Linked DNA regions of Homo sapiens: all the other regions are linked to region 1. Evidence: promoter capture Hi-C in human tissues and cell types (Jung and others, 2019). All regions are on one chromosome and are shown on one strand. Each heading gives the region's core, a stretch centred on a gene start or on the middle of the fragment in contact. The rest is flanking DNA. Distances are from core to core; before and after follow the strand shown.

What was found. The method cuts DNA at HindIII sites, captures the fragments that hold promoters and counts their contacts. A contact is called where the count stands out against the background at its distance.
Region 2: a fragment that was not itself captured here is called in contact with the fragment with the promoter of CDKN2AIPNL in region 1 in 1 of the 25 tissues and cell types used here (heart right ventricle).
Region 3: a fragment that was not itself captured here is called in contact with the fragment with the promoter of CDKN2AIPNL in region 1 in 2 of the 25 tissues and cell types used here (hippocampus and small bowel).
Region 4: a contact is called between a fragment that was not itself captured here and the fragment with the promoter of CDKN2AIPNL in region 1, in 1 of the 25 tissues and cell types used here (small bowel).

Annotation. Positions count from the first base shown.
Region 1 is chr5:134,410,362-134,413,898 of GRCh38, forward strand. It overlaps CDKN2AIPNL (CDKN2A interacting protein N-terminal like), which reads right to left and starts at 1,520. Exons shown (of 3, transcript NM_080656.3): 1 at 1,255-1,520. The coding sequence starts at 1,493. RefSeq lists enhancers at 912-1,650, 1,174-1,663, 1,651-2,388. The HindIII fragment of the contact is 17,979 bases long and covers 80-3,537 here.
Region 2 is chr5:134,193,769-134,197,305 of GRCh38, forward strand. PPP2CA (protein phosphatase 2 catalytic subunit alpha) reads right to left here. Exons shown (of 7, transcript NM_002715.4): 7 at 564-3,537. Among named protein-coding and RNA genes, the nearest start is that of SKP1, 19 kb to the left of the region's middle. The HindIII fragment of the contact is 4,633 bases long and covers 1-3,537 here.
Region 3 is chr5:134,213,426-134,216,962 of GRCh38, forward strand. All of the region lies in intron 1 of PPP2CA (protein phosphatase 2 catalytic subunit alpha), which reads right to left. Among named protein-coding and RNA genes, the nearest start is that of MIR3661, 11 kb to the right of the region's middle. The HindIII fragment of the contact is 5,715 bases long and covers 1-3,537 here.
Region 4 is chr5:134,241,710-134,245,246 of GRCh38, forward strand. No RefSeq gene overlaps it. Among named protein-coding and RNA genes, the nearest start is that of PPP2CA-DT, 17 kb to the left of the region's middle. The HindIII fragment of the contact is 9,275 bases long and covers 1-3,537 here.

The sequences.
Region 1 (3,537 bases), core at 270-2,769:
TGACCTCAAGTGATCCTCCTCCCAAAGTGCTAGGATTACTGGCGTGAGACACCGTGCCTGGCCCTGTGAACACTTCTTGCTTGTAGATACAGAAGTGGACTTCAGAAATACCAGTACAGCAGATGTTTCAAGATTTAGAAGAACAGAGGCACTGTACATCCAGCAACAGATATTCTCAGATACAGGATGAGGACCAAAATATTTTTATTTTTTAAATACATGGAATGTTAGTCTAACAAAAACATTATTTATTTCCCCAATTCTCTGACATTTGCCTAACCATGGAAAACCAGGATTTCCCAGGAGCACCTAGAAGGCAGGGAAAAGGGACGGGTGCCTCTGGCATTGCTTCCCTACGTACTGTTCTAATAAACCCCAATATGTGAAGCAAAACCAAGTGGCTTAGGCCTGCAGGGGCCAAATGACCAGAGTCAGGCAGCCATAATAGGTATAGAAACCAAGATCAAACCAAGTCACCCTATTTTCCTAACACAATTTCAGGAAAATCGAAGCTCTCTAATAGGGAGTCTCAAGATTTGCCACCTTCCTCATGGAGGGGTGAAAGGAATGCCTTATCAGGCACTTCAAAAGCGGGCCTTTGTCCTTTTGGTGCTGCAGCCAGGATGAAGTGGGCTTTGAGACCTTCACAAAAAGGCATCGGCCATTTTCATAAGAGGGAAAGCAGAGAGGTGAAGCTGGTTCCTACTTAGGACCCCGTGGGCTGTGGAGTGAGGAGAAAAAGCCATAGGATACAGATTACATCCTCTCATTAGTGATTAAAATCCATCAATCCTGCCAGAAGCTGCATGGCCCCAGGTATATCACTTCTCTCCCTAAGCTTTTTCATCTGTAAAATGGGGATCTCCGTTTCTCTCTCTGCACGTTTGCCATGTAGGTGACAGGGGCTAACGGACTTCGAATGCATACTGCAAAGGTGATGGTTTGAGCTAATAATAATAGTAATACAAATAACAATAGCAACCTTTGAACCCGCCATGTATTTAGCTCTTCACCCTTTAATTATTACAGCCATCATAACCACCCTTTTACCAGAAGAGAAAACTGAGGCTCAAAGATAAGGATCTTTCCAAGGGGCCTCCAGGGTGGGAATCAGTCTTCGGGCCGACCAATGCGGATGGAGGTTGGGCCCGGGTTCAGTCTGGGGCAGAGGTTCGGGTCAGGGGTGAGCCCTGGGAGAGGCCTTGAGGGTCGGAAGATAGGGGACAGGATCAGCCGGCCGGCAGGGGTCCGCACCTGCAGCCTAGGAAGAGATGGTTGGCCCAGACCATGGAGAGGGAGAGCAGCTGGTCCAGGCGGCCACTGCCGTCGGGCGGGTCGCGGTAGTCGGGCAGGTGGCGCAGGATGAATTCCATGCGGGCCTTCCATTGCTTCTCGCTCTCTGAGTAGGAGCGGAACTGCTCCGCGAAGTCGGCCGCCTGCCGCACCCCCGAAACCAGCTCCTCCACTGCGGCAGCCGCCTCGCCACCGACCATGGTGCCCGCCGCAGCCGAGGACCGGATAGCCCGCCGCCTTCCCGACGCGCACTGCGCCACCGCCTGCCGGCCAGAGGGGCCCCATCAGCGCACGACTGCTCCAGAAGACCAACCTGGAGCGCCCTCGCCCGGAGCGGCGGCCTGCGGGGGCACAGAGCGGCTCCTGGCTCCTCAGACCGCCGCAGCCCGTGGCTCCTGCCCTGGGTCTACCCAGGGCTACAAGGGTCTTTTGCGGTCGACCCTGCGGGGAACCGGTGGGAAAACTGAGGTCCCTAAACACAGATTCGGAGCGCCCTCTTCCAGTTGGCAGCTGGATGCCAGCCAGAGCTATGCTGTGCCCTTGCCCTGAGAGTTTCCCGGGCACCGCCTCATCCTGAGCGACATCAGGGGGCCCGGGTCACGGTCGACTTCCAGGGGTCTCCACAGCCACGAAGGTTGGGGCCCGCCTTCCTGGAGCGAGTAATCCATCCATCCCGTGAATACTTGCCAGGCACATTGCTAGGTGCTGGAGAGGCAATGAGAGCACATTCGGAGCCCTGCTCGCCTGAACTTTACCATGGAGTGGAGGAGTGGACATTAGTGACATAATTGCTCAAGTAAATGGAGAATTTCAGCGTTGACAAGTATTAGTAAAGAGAAGTTCAGCGTGCTACAACCATGAATAAGCAAGGGACCCAATCTAGTCTTGGGGTCAGGGAAGTGATCCTGGAGAAGTGAAGAATGAGCAGTTTTCTGAGTAAAGGGGAGTCGGTCAAAGCAAGAGAGAGCATGGCCTGGTAAGAGAATTGCAAGATAGGGGGTAGGAGGGGTTGGGGGGCGGGGCAGGGCAGGTAGAGAATGGAGAAGATGAAGTTGCAGAGGTCAGCAAGGCCAGTAGGCCAGGCAGGGATCCTGGCTAGATCCCAAGAATGGGGAGCCGCTGAAGGATTTTAACCAGAACAGTGACACCTGTGTTTACAAAAGATGCTGGAAGGAGCCAGAAACAATGTGTCCAGAGGAAATGAGCAAGTTTGGACTTGGTTTTAAATAGAGACAGGGTTTCGCCATGTTGCCCAGGCTGGTCTCGAACTCCTGAGCTCAAGTGATCCGTCTCCCTCAGCCTCCCAAAATGCTGGGATTACAGGTATGAGCCATCGTAACTGGCTGGACCTGAAAGTTTTTATTTAGCTGGCATGACTCTGCTGTCTGTTCGAGTCTCAGGTAGCAGACACACTGAGAGAAAAAAGAGCTTCCTTTTAAGTGGTGAATTTTCCATCCCTGGAAGCATTCAACTACAGTAACTGGGTGTTGGGGCTCAGAAACCAACACCCCAAAATGTATTTTGACATGCTGAACTGATGAAGAAGCCTCAAGGTCTCTGTGACCTCCGCCACCAACACACACTCCTGTCTGTCAATTCTTTGTTCCTCCCAAAGCACAAGATGAAGTTGTTCCCTTATCTGCCTAAATTTAGTCCAGAACGCCAAAGGAAACAATTATCTCTGGTTCCCTCCCTGAGTTTTCATTAAGTGAATTTGTTTTGCAGGAGGAAAGACTGAAGTATGGTCAACACACTAGGACAGACTTTTGTCACAAACCCTTGTCTCCTCTGCAGGCCCAACAGACTTTGTCCCAGGCCATTGCATGTTCTTCAAGCCCATTGAATTACCCTAAAAATCATTTACTACCCATCTAAAATATTCACACTCTGGATGATGGGGTAATCACTCTGTGATTAACTATGCACATTAATAAACTTGTATGTCTTTTCTCTTTTTTTTTTTTTTTTGAGAGCAAATTTCACTCTTTTTGCCCAGGCTGGAGTGCAATGGTGTGATCTCTGCTCACCGCAACTTCTGCCTCCCAGGTTCAAGTGATTCTCCTGCCTCAGCCTCCTGAGTAGCTGGGATTACAGGCACCTGACATCACGCCCGGCTAATTTTGTATCTTTAGTAGAAACGGGGTTTCACCATGTTGACCAGGCTGGTCTCGAACCCCTGATCTCAGGTGGTCCAAGCTCCTCGGCCTCCCAAAATGATGGGATTATAGGCGTGAGCCACAGTGC
Region 2 (3,537 bases), core at 525-3,024, 220 kb before region 1:
CTTTTCCTTAAAAAACAAAAAAGTGTGACTTTTTCCAGCATTCACTCATTAGCTATAATTATTTCCTCTTTCACTCTTGGGAATGAGGAATTCTGGTCCAGGCATGACAGCAAATACAAAACAAACTGGGGTCTGTTGCCTATATCACTTACTTGGTTACCACTGATCTTTGTATGTTCAACTTTTAAACAATTCAAACACAGTCCACATTTTTCTTTCCTCAAATTTATATACCAGCTGATAAAAATACATTTCAATCTATTTACAGGACAGCACTGCCTACAAGCCAACAATGCTGTGTTAGCAACATCCCATTTTTTTCTAGACAGTAGTACTTGTGCAATTAAATATATATAATAAAAAGTAGAAATAAAATGTACTTATATTCCTAAAACATAAAGCTTTAAATGTAATTGGAAAAAATATAGAAATCACCAGGCATGCCCAAAATAATACATCTACAACCTTCATAAGGCTATTTGCTAAAACAGATGTATACTTGTGAAGGGAAAAAAATCTAAATTAAAAAAGTTTATGAAGACTAGAAATATGTCAAAACAATGTGTGAGGACGAAGGCTTTAATGCAAAATAGCTTTAGCTCACAGAACCAAAATCCATCTGAAAACAAACAAGCCTATTACCAAACTATAGGTTACTAAACTATAGGCCCATTTCTAAGAACACATTTATGGTTGGAAGCAAAGGAATATTTATACTAAACAGGTAAAAGTCACCACTGAAACAGAGAGTCGCACGGTACATTTTAATTCCTTATCAACATCCATGAACCACCACCATGTATCCCAATTTTCTTAAGTATGTACTTAGGAAACAGCAGTGAGGTGTTTTTGTTTTTTGAGATGGAGTTTTGCTCTTTTTGCCCAGGCTGGAGTGCAATGGCACGATCTGGGCTCACTGTAACCTCCTCCTCCTGAGTTCAAGTGATTCTCCTGCCTCAGCCTCCCAAGTAGCTGGGATTACAGGCTCCTGCCACCACACCGGTCAGTTTTGTATTTTTAATAGAGATGGGGTTTCACCACGCTGGCCAGGCTGGTCTCGATCTCCTGACATCAGGTGATCCACCCACCCCGGCCTCCCCAAGTGCTGGGATTACAGGCATGAGCCACCGCGCCTGGCTGTTTTTAACCCTAGATGTAAATTAGAATCACTTGGGAAACTTAAAAAATGTATGCCTGGGCCCTCCTCCAGCAATTTAAATCAGAATCTCTGTAGGCATCAAAGCTGAGAACCACAGAAATAACTATCCTTTTCCTGAGCTAAGTCCTTCTTGAAACTAATCTAATATTGACAAACTTCTATTTAAGAAATACCGACTACAACCAACAAATGTTTAATATGCAGCAAATGAAAAAATCATGTCTAGGATACTCAACCCAAGACATGAGCACATCATGTACAAATTCATTGTAAACTTACAAAATAAGTTTCAAAATTTCTGCAAGCCCTCACTATACAAACTCAGAATCCTCTTTATTTTTGAGACAGGGTCTGGCTCTGTCACCCAGACTGGAGTACAGTGGCACAATCTCAGCCCACTGCAACCTCCATCTCCTGGGCTCAGGCGATCCTCTCACCTCAGCCTCCCAAGTAGCTGGGACTATGGTATGCCACCAAGCCCGGCTGATTTTCATATTTTTTGTAGAGATGGGGTTTTGCCATGTTGGCCAGGCTGCTCTTCAACTCCTGACCTCAAGGGATCCACCCACCCTGGTCTCCCAAAGTGCTGGGATTACAGGCATGAGCCACTGTGCCAGGCCTGTTCTTAGGGAAAGCTTTTTAGGTTTATTAATGAAAATCCTAATGTTACTAATTGAGACATCAGTTAACACCCAACTTAGTGATTCCCATCCAACCATAATTATGTATTTTTCAAGAAAATACATAATTTACTAACACATTTTCCTTACCATAGCCATTTTCAAAAGAAGGTAGGGTACTAACACTTTCCAGTTTAGATGGCCAAAGCCCGGTCAGTCTCTATAATTAAACAATTATTTTAAACCCTAGTTATGCTAAAACCAAGCTATTCTTATCACAAGTCCCATTCTGCTAACCACAAAATTTAGAGAATTTGTACCTGGAAGATACCACCACGTGTCAATTACAATATACGTATTCCTTGGTCAATTCTGATATCACAGGACCGGAAAAAATAGCTGCTTGGTGTCTAGATTGTTTGGGTATTAAAACCACTGCACATGGATAAGCTATTTGTTCAGTCGGAGAGAAAGGGCATAGAGTGACAGAGCAACAAAAAGACACACAGAGAATGTATTTCTTGTGAAAGAAAAGAATGAAATGAAATGAAATGTAGAAACCCTAATGGCCTTTTGCTTTGGAAAATTAACTCCACAAGCCACTAAAAATACTATCAATTAGATCAGAAAAGACATTCGGTATGTATGTGTTCCTCAAGCATTTTAGAAAGGGGATATGCTATAACTTCCCTGTTGGTTCCAGATTCAACACAGCACAAAGCAAGAAAACTTTTATTTACTACACTCACAAGTATGATTAAGTGTTCCTGTTTACTCTGGTAGGTTAAAATATCAAATATTAGTTCCCACAGAAGAACTTTTTTTTAAACATCTAATCCTATTCGAAGGATAAAAGGGGAAAAACTCATTAAATGTTGAACACTGCCACTTTAAGTACCATTTTTGTCTTCGGGTGAATGTACATAAGACTAAATCATGATCCAACAATAGTTTTCTATTTGGTTTCACTAGTATCACTCAAAGAACTTGACACAGGCTAATGCTTTAACACTTTCTTATCTGAGACAAATTTAACTCTAAGAACATATGACTCAACAATGTACAAAGATTTAAGAATTTGCCAATCTGTCAATCATTTTAAAGAGTCCATATAATATACACATAGCAATATAATATTCATAACCAGAAACTGCACTAAGTAAACACATCATTTAGTTTAAGCTCTACCTGAAAACATGCTGTTTTATTAAAACAAAACCCAAAGACTTAAATCTCAAGTTATATGGTTTTACAATTAAGTCTTACTGAAGCAGCACAGATTTCCTTTCTTACAAACAAGTTAATATGCAGGAAGAACCCACAAAGTGCACACCAACAATGTGACAAATTGTAATATGTGAAATACAAATAAATCCTGAAGTTAATCTGAAGAATGTCAAGGAGTTACCAGAGAGGTTATGTAGTGCCCTTGATTTTTATTTTACCTACAAGTCTACAAATTCTAAAATTTACTCAATTGATTTAACTTTTTTAATAAACAGCACCAGTCTTGCCCATTGATACAATTAAAATTTGACCTTCTCAGTTCTTAGTTCACAAGTTTATTATGAAAAACACTGCAGTGCTCTTGTGCAGTCACATCGTCTTACAGGAAGGGGAAAAAACAGTTCTGTTCAAAACAACTCACCAGGTTCTGACAATAACAAAGAACAACATGGGGCTGAGATTTGAGTAGGGAATAAACTGAGTGCAGACAAATCATATAATTAAATTAAACGGTATCCCTGAAAATAAAAA
Region 3 (3,537 bases), core at 763-3,262, 200 kb before region 1:
AAAGATTCCTTTCAAAATATTACTGCTCAGCCTGGGCAACACACCAAAACCCCATCTCTACAAAAAAATTAAAATATTAGCTGGGCATAGTGGTACACACCTGTAGTACCAGCTACTTGGAAGGCTGTGGCAGGAGGATTGCTTGAGCTCAGGAGTTCAAGATCAGCCTGGGCAATGTGGCGAGACCCTGTCTCTACGAAAAATAAAAATTAGCTAGGCATGGTGGTGCACTCTGTGGTCCCAGCTGCTAAGGAGGCTAAGGCAGAAGAATCACTTGAGCCCAGGAGTTCAAGGTTCCAGTGAACTATGATGATGTCACTGTACTTCAGCCTGGGCAACAACACCATCTCAAAATAAATAAATAAAAGCACAAAATGATTACAACCATGTCACAATTCTTTGCATTAAAAAAAGGCTGAAAAGCCCAGGCACAGTGGCTCACGCCTGTAATTCTATCACTTTGGGAGCCAAAGCAGGTGGATGACTTTAGGTCAAGAGTTTGGGACCAGCCTGGCCAACACGGTAAAACCCCATCTCTACTAAAAATACAAAAATCAGCCAGGTAAGATGGCACAGGCCTGTAATCCCAGCTACTTGGGAGGCTGTGGCATGAGAATTATTGGAACCCAGGAGGCAGAGGTTGCAGTGAGCTGAGATCGTGCCACTGCACTCCAGCCTATGCAACACAGTAAGACTCTCTCTCAAAACTAACAAAAAAAGGCTAAAAAAAAAATTAAAAGGTTAAGATTTCACTGAAAGCTTTAAGATATATAACTATCTTATTCTTACCAACCAGAACTCTTCTCATTTCTATTACCTTTCAGTTTTTACCCACACAGACCTCTTACTTATAATTGACTGGCATCTCATTTTGTGTCCTAAAGTTTCATACTAACTCGTTTCTACATTATAGTGATTTTTTAAAACTACATAATGCCCTTCTAAATAGACCTATACGTGTACAGTATTATTGCTCATTTGAATTATTTCCTTTCAAAAAGCTTTAATTGTGGGATTACAGGGCAAAATAGCATTAACTTTTTTTGTTTCATATGTACTATAAAACTCAATTATGCCAATTTGTTATACAATAATAAATGAAAGAATATACTCATTCTCAGCTATTTCAGATATACAATGTGGTATCACTAATTTAATTGGCATTTTTCATTTCTGAGTACAAACTTTTTATTCCATGTTTATTTACCATCAGTTATTTCTCCTCTTATACAAGTTGTCCATGAATATTTTTGAACATCTGATCATTAAGAGCTAGATGATGTTCTGAAGTATTTGTATAAACTATTTTAAACTGTTATTTTAAGTAACTTTTTGGCATTTTGTTTCTCTTATTTTTTAAATATATAGCCAGAAATTTTCTATGCCCATTTTTGCTTTGTAATTTTTCTCCTACAATTATTAAGAAAAGTTATCACGTCTTGCCATTTTCTAAGAGTTTTTCATTTTAAAATCTATACTTTAATCCTAAGATTACACGACAACTACTCAAGCTTCTTTTTATATCAGCATCTTAAACTTGCATCGTTAACATTATGACATTAACTTTAAATGTTTAATAATGACCTTGAAGTATTTTGGAATCCTGCATCCAAGAAAAAAAAAATCAATCAATTGGGACCTAGGGCTTGAGAAGTGTCTAATATTTATTTACTTTTTTTTTTTTTTTTTGAGACAAGTTCTTGCTCTGTTCCCCAGGCTTCGAGTGCTGTAGCATGATCACAGCTCATTGCAGTCTAGATCTCCTGGACCCAAGCAATCCTCTTGCCTCAGCCTCACAGAGTAGCTAGAACCACAGGTGTGCCACCACACCCAACTAATTTATTTTTAAAAATTATTCGTAGGGCTGGGTGCAGTGGCTCACGCCTGTAATCCCAGCACTTCGGGAGGCCGAGGCAGGTGGATCACTTGAGGTCAGGAGTTCAAGACCAGCCTGGCCAAAGTGGTGAAACCCCATCTCTACCAAAAAAAAAATACAAAAATATTCTGGGCATGGTAGCCCTCGCCTGTGGTCCCAGCTACTCAGGAGGCTGAGGCAGGAGAATCGCTTGAACCCAGGAGGTGGAGGTTGCAGTGAGCCAAGATCATGCCACTGCACTCCAGCCTGGGTGACAGAGCAAAACTCCATCTCAAAAAATAAAAATAAAAATAAAAATAAAAAAGTAAAAATTTTGTTGTAGAGACAGGGTCTCACTATGCTGCCTAGGCTGGTCTTGAACTCCCGGGCTCAAGATATCCTCCTGCCCTGGCCTCCCAATCTGCTGGGATTATAGGTGTAAGTCACCAGGCCTAGCCTCTAATTCTTTAAAGTCCGGTCACCAATGTTTAATGTATACAGTAACTCCTAAGCAGACTCTCACTCCCTTCACCATTGAAAACAGATAACATTTCCTGAACAAATGCTATCTCAGAGAAAAGATGAGACTGAGATAATAACCCTTATTCTTCAAATCTTAGGACTTGGGTACTCCAACGAAATCAGATTATGCCATTCAACAGCAAGGCCAGCTGAGAGCAGCAAGTGGCTCTGATGGACAACAGAGTACTCTTGCCACTACACTCCAGGGAAAACACCCAAGCACTGTTTTTAAGATAATTTCATCAGATGTCCAGCAAAATATTTTCTTAGTCTCAAAAACAGTTAATCACATAACAGTACCAATTCTGGCACTAAAGTATACCAAGAAATAACTTGCTTCAAAATACGAGTTCCAATATTTGGGGTTAATATTCATTTTTGTTGTTAGCTACATGAAAGGGATCATGATGTAACTAAAAGCATTCTCCTAAAGGTATATTACAAGTGGTTTCGGGTGGGCACGGTGGATCATGCCTGTAATCCCAGCACTTCGGGAGGCCAGGGTGGGTGGATCGCTTGAGGTCAGGAGTTTGAGAACAGCCTGGGCAACATGGCGAAACACCCCCTCCCCTACTAAAAATACAAAAATTAGCTGGGCATGGTGGTGCATGCCTGTAATGCCAGCTACTCAGGAGGCTGAAGCTGGAGAATCACTTGAACCCATGAGGCGGAGGTTGCAGTGGGCTGAGATTGTGCCACTGCATTCCAGCCTGGGCAACAGAGTGAGACTGCCTCAAAAAAAAAAAAAAAAAAAAGTGGTTTCCTTCAAAAGAAGGTAGTCAAACACCGAAGAACCCCAAGGTCTATACTGAGGAAAAAGTGTTTGGATTAATCACAGATCAATGATTTATACTTAACTAAAGAAACCTGTTTTTTGTTTTGTAGAAACGGTGGTCTCACTACATTGCCCAAGCTGGTCTCAAACTCCTAGTCTCGAGTGAGCTTCCAGCCTCCGCCTCCCAAAGCACCAGGATTGTAGGTATGAGCCACCATGCCTAGACAGAAATCAAGTTTCTGTATCATCAATTCTGCCCTTGATGAAAAACGTCAATGCAGGCCTAACCTGTCTTCTCTGTAGCATCAAACTCAAAATCAGACACAAATAACCTCTTTACAATCTTAGTACTAATAATAGTACTATTTGACAAAGGAATCTCCAT
Region 4 (3,537 bases), core at 710-3,209, 170 kb before region 1:
TGTTTTGTTTTTGTTTTTTGAGACAGGATCTCTCCCTGTTGCCCAAGCTAAAGTATAGTGGCACAATTATAGCTCACTGTAGCCTCAAATTCCTGGGCTCAAGCGATCCTCCCACCTCGGCTTCTCTAGTAGCTGGGACTACAGGCACATACTCCCATGCCCAGGTATTTTTTATTTTATTTTTTTCTGGAGACAGGATCTTACTGTGTTGTCCAGGCTGGCCTTGAACTCTTGATTTCAAGTGATCCTCCCACCTTGGCCTCCCAAAGTTCTAGAGATTACAGGCCTGAACCACTGTGCCCAGCCTTAATTTATAACAATTCTTCCTTTTTTTTTTATAGCCCTACTTTTTGGTGTTGTTGAAGATAATGGGTCTTTTAGTTATTATTGCTGTGTAACAAGCCACCCCAAACTTAGTGGCATAAAATAACAACCCATTTATTGTGTTTACAGAGTCTATGGGTCAGGAATTCAGAAAGGACCCAGTTGGGGATGGCTTCTCTCAGCTCCAAGCTGTCTAGGGACTCAGCTGGGAAGATTCAGCCTGAGGATGACTTCACAACTGGGAGCTAGAAGCAGCTGAAGTCTTGTTTACTCACGTGTCAGTGGCTGGGCCTGACGCATTCAAAAACTAGGACTGCTGACCACAGCGCCTACACATGGCCTCTCTCTGTGCCTTGGCTTTCTCACAGAATGGCAAGTTAAACTTCTTACATAGCAGCTTAGGTCTACAAATGCAAGTGTTCCAGCCACAAGGTGGATGCTGTATCACTTTCCTTTTTGAGATGGAGTCTTACTCTGTCACTCGGGCTGGAGTGCAGTGGCACCATCTCGGCTCACTGCAACCTCCGCCTCCCAGGTTCAAGTGATTCTTCTGCCTCAGCCTCCCGAGTAGCTGGGATTATAGGCATGCACCACCACGCCCAGCTAATTTTTTGTATTTTTAGTAGAGACAGGGTTTCACCATGTTGGCCAGGCTGGTCTCGAACTCCTGACCTCAGGTGATCCACCCACCTCGACCTCCCAAAGTGCTGGGATTACAGGTGTGAGCCACCGTGCCTGGCTGCTGTATCACTTTTTATAACCTAACCTCAGAAATCACAGAGTGTTAGTTTTGCTGTCTTCTGTTGGGTACAAGTCACAAGCTTCCCCAGACTCAAAGAGAGTGGAATCAGACTCTACCTTTAGAGTAGCAAAGTTCCAAAAGAGCACGTAGGGTGGGCAATATTATTGCCCCCATTGGAGATTAGGACCATCAGTTGAGCCTGCCTTTCCTCCACCAGCCAGGAAAGATGTTGCAAACAATGGAAGCCTGGTGGAAGAGAGAAAGGGTGGAGTTTGTTTGCAGGGCCATATCCTACAGTTGTACATACTGTGCCATGAACAGCCAAGGAGACGAGCTGAGATGAATCCAGCTCTACTTGCCACACCTGTGCCTTACTGTGGGACTGCATCTCCAGGATGAAGAAGCACCTTTTCTAATATGCATAGATACCATATAGGCAAGAGGAGTCCTCACATGGATGGTAAAAGGTCATTTAACCTAACTTGAAATTATTGGGTATCTATGGAACACATGCTACTTTAGAGAATACTAGGGCTTGTTTCAGCTTAAGAGGCACACACAAGTAGGCCAAGAAATATCTTAGAGTATCTCAAAAATGATGCTGGGTTGACTCAAATGTTGTTTTAAAATTGTGTAACTTTTTTTTTTTTTTTTTTTTGAGACAGAGTCTTGCTCTGTTGCCCAGGCTGGAGTGCAGTGGCATGATCTTGGCTCACTGCAACCTCCGCCTCCCAGGTTCAAGCGATTCTCCTGTCTCAGCCTCCCAAGTAGCTGGGACTACAGGTGCCTGCCATCACACCCAGCTAATTTTTGTATTTTTAGTAGAGTTGGGGTTTCAACTTTTTGGTCAGACTGGTCTCCAACTCCTGACCTCAGGTGATCCACCTGCCTCGGCCTCCCAATGTGCTGGGATTACAGGCGTAAGCCACCACGCCTGGCCCTAAAATGGTGTAATTTTTAGCACCAGGTACTTTTTATTTATTTATTTTGTTTTAGAGTTAGGGTCTCACTCCGTCACCCAGGCTGGTGTGTAGTGGCACAATCATAGCTCACTGCAGCCTTGAACTCCTGGGCTCGACTGCTCCTCCCACCTCAGGCTCCCAAGTGGCGAGGACTACAGGTGTGTGCCACCATGCCAGGCTAATTTTAAAATTTTTGTAGTGACATTGTGTTACCCAGGCTGGTCTTGAACTCCTGGGCTCAAGCAATCCTCCTTCCTCAGCCTCCCAAAGTGCTGGGATTACAGGCTTGAGCCACCATGCCTGGCTCCACCAGGTACTTTTTGATTGCATTGGTCTAGAATGTTCTAGACCTATCTTTGAAGAAGCTGAGGCACTGTATCTCAATGCCTGAGGGACTAGCCCTATCCACATATTGCCAGCCTTGGCTCGATGCAAAAAGTGGGCACAGGATTTCTAGGAAACCAGCCCAAACAGAATTAGGGGTTTTCTTTTATTCTTTGTGGTGCTTATTCCTCATTAACATAGCTTTTGCATTTTAGTTAGATCCCCAAGAAAGTACATGGTTTCATTTCTGTTTATGGGCATCAGGAAACTTTAAAAAACTACAGATAAAACGAGGTAACTTTCAAATATTTTAAAGAGCTGGAAAAGCCAGCACAGTGGCGTTCAGCTAGTAGTGCTAGCTACTGAGGAGGCTGAAACGGGGGGATCACTTGAGCCCAGGAGTTTGAGACTGTAGTGTGCAATGATTGTGCCTGTGAATAGCCACTGCATTCGAGCTTGGGCAACATAGTGAGACCTGTGTCTCTTAAAAAAAAAAAAAAAGAGCAAGATAGCAAAAGAGCAAGACAGCATCATATATCCCTGAGTTTGATAAAGGTCAGCGTGTTATAAGACAGCTCACAGAATCCAGGTGTAAATTTCTGTCAATAAGATTATTAAAAAGCTATGATCATGCTGTTAAAGCCATGCTAGTGGTCAACAGCTGGGTCGAGGAAAACGTCAAATGGCAAGGCCCAGAGCACTTAAGAAAAAAAAGAAATTATTAGGGCTCAGGTATAGAGTATTAAGTTAATCGCACTTTTCAGTTCATGGCTCATTATACTATGATCAGTCCATCCAAAGCCCCTTACTTTTCTTTTATTTTTTTTTTTAGACGGAGTTTTGCTTTTGTCGCCAAGGCTGGAGTGCAATGGTGCAAATATATACATATATATATATATATATATATATATATATATATTTTTTTTTTTTTTGGTTTGTATGTATGCATTCATGTGAAGTGTTGTCATGCCCAGGGTCAGGTTCTGGTCCATGCTGAGGTCCGAAGGCAGTGGGTGGATGGGTGGCAGATAGCTGAAAGAACACTCAGAGGGCTGCAGGCAGATGAAGTATGGTTTTATTCAGCGGCTCTCTTACACCGTCTGTCTCTGTCTTGGCTGCTTGCTCTGGCTCTGCGGCTCCTGCCGCTCCCACACACAGCTGCACAGCCAGCTCTCCCTATGGGGT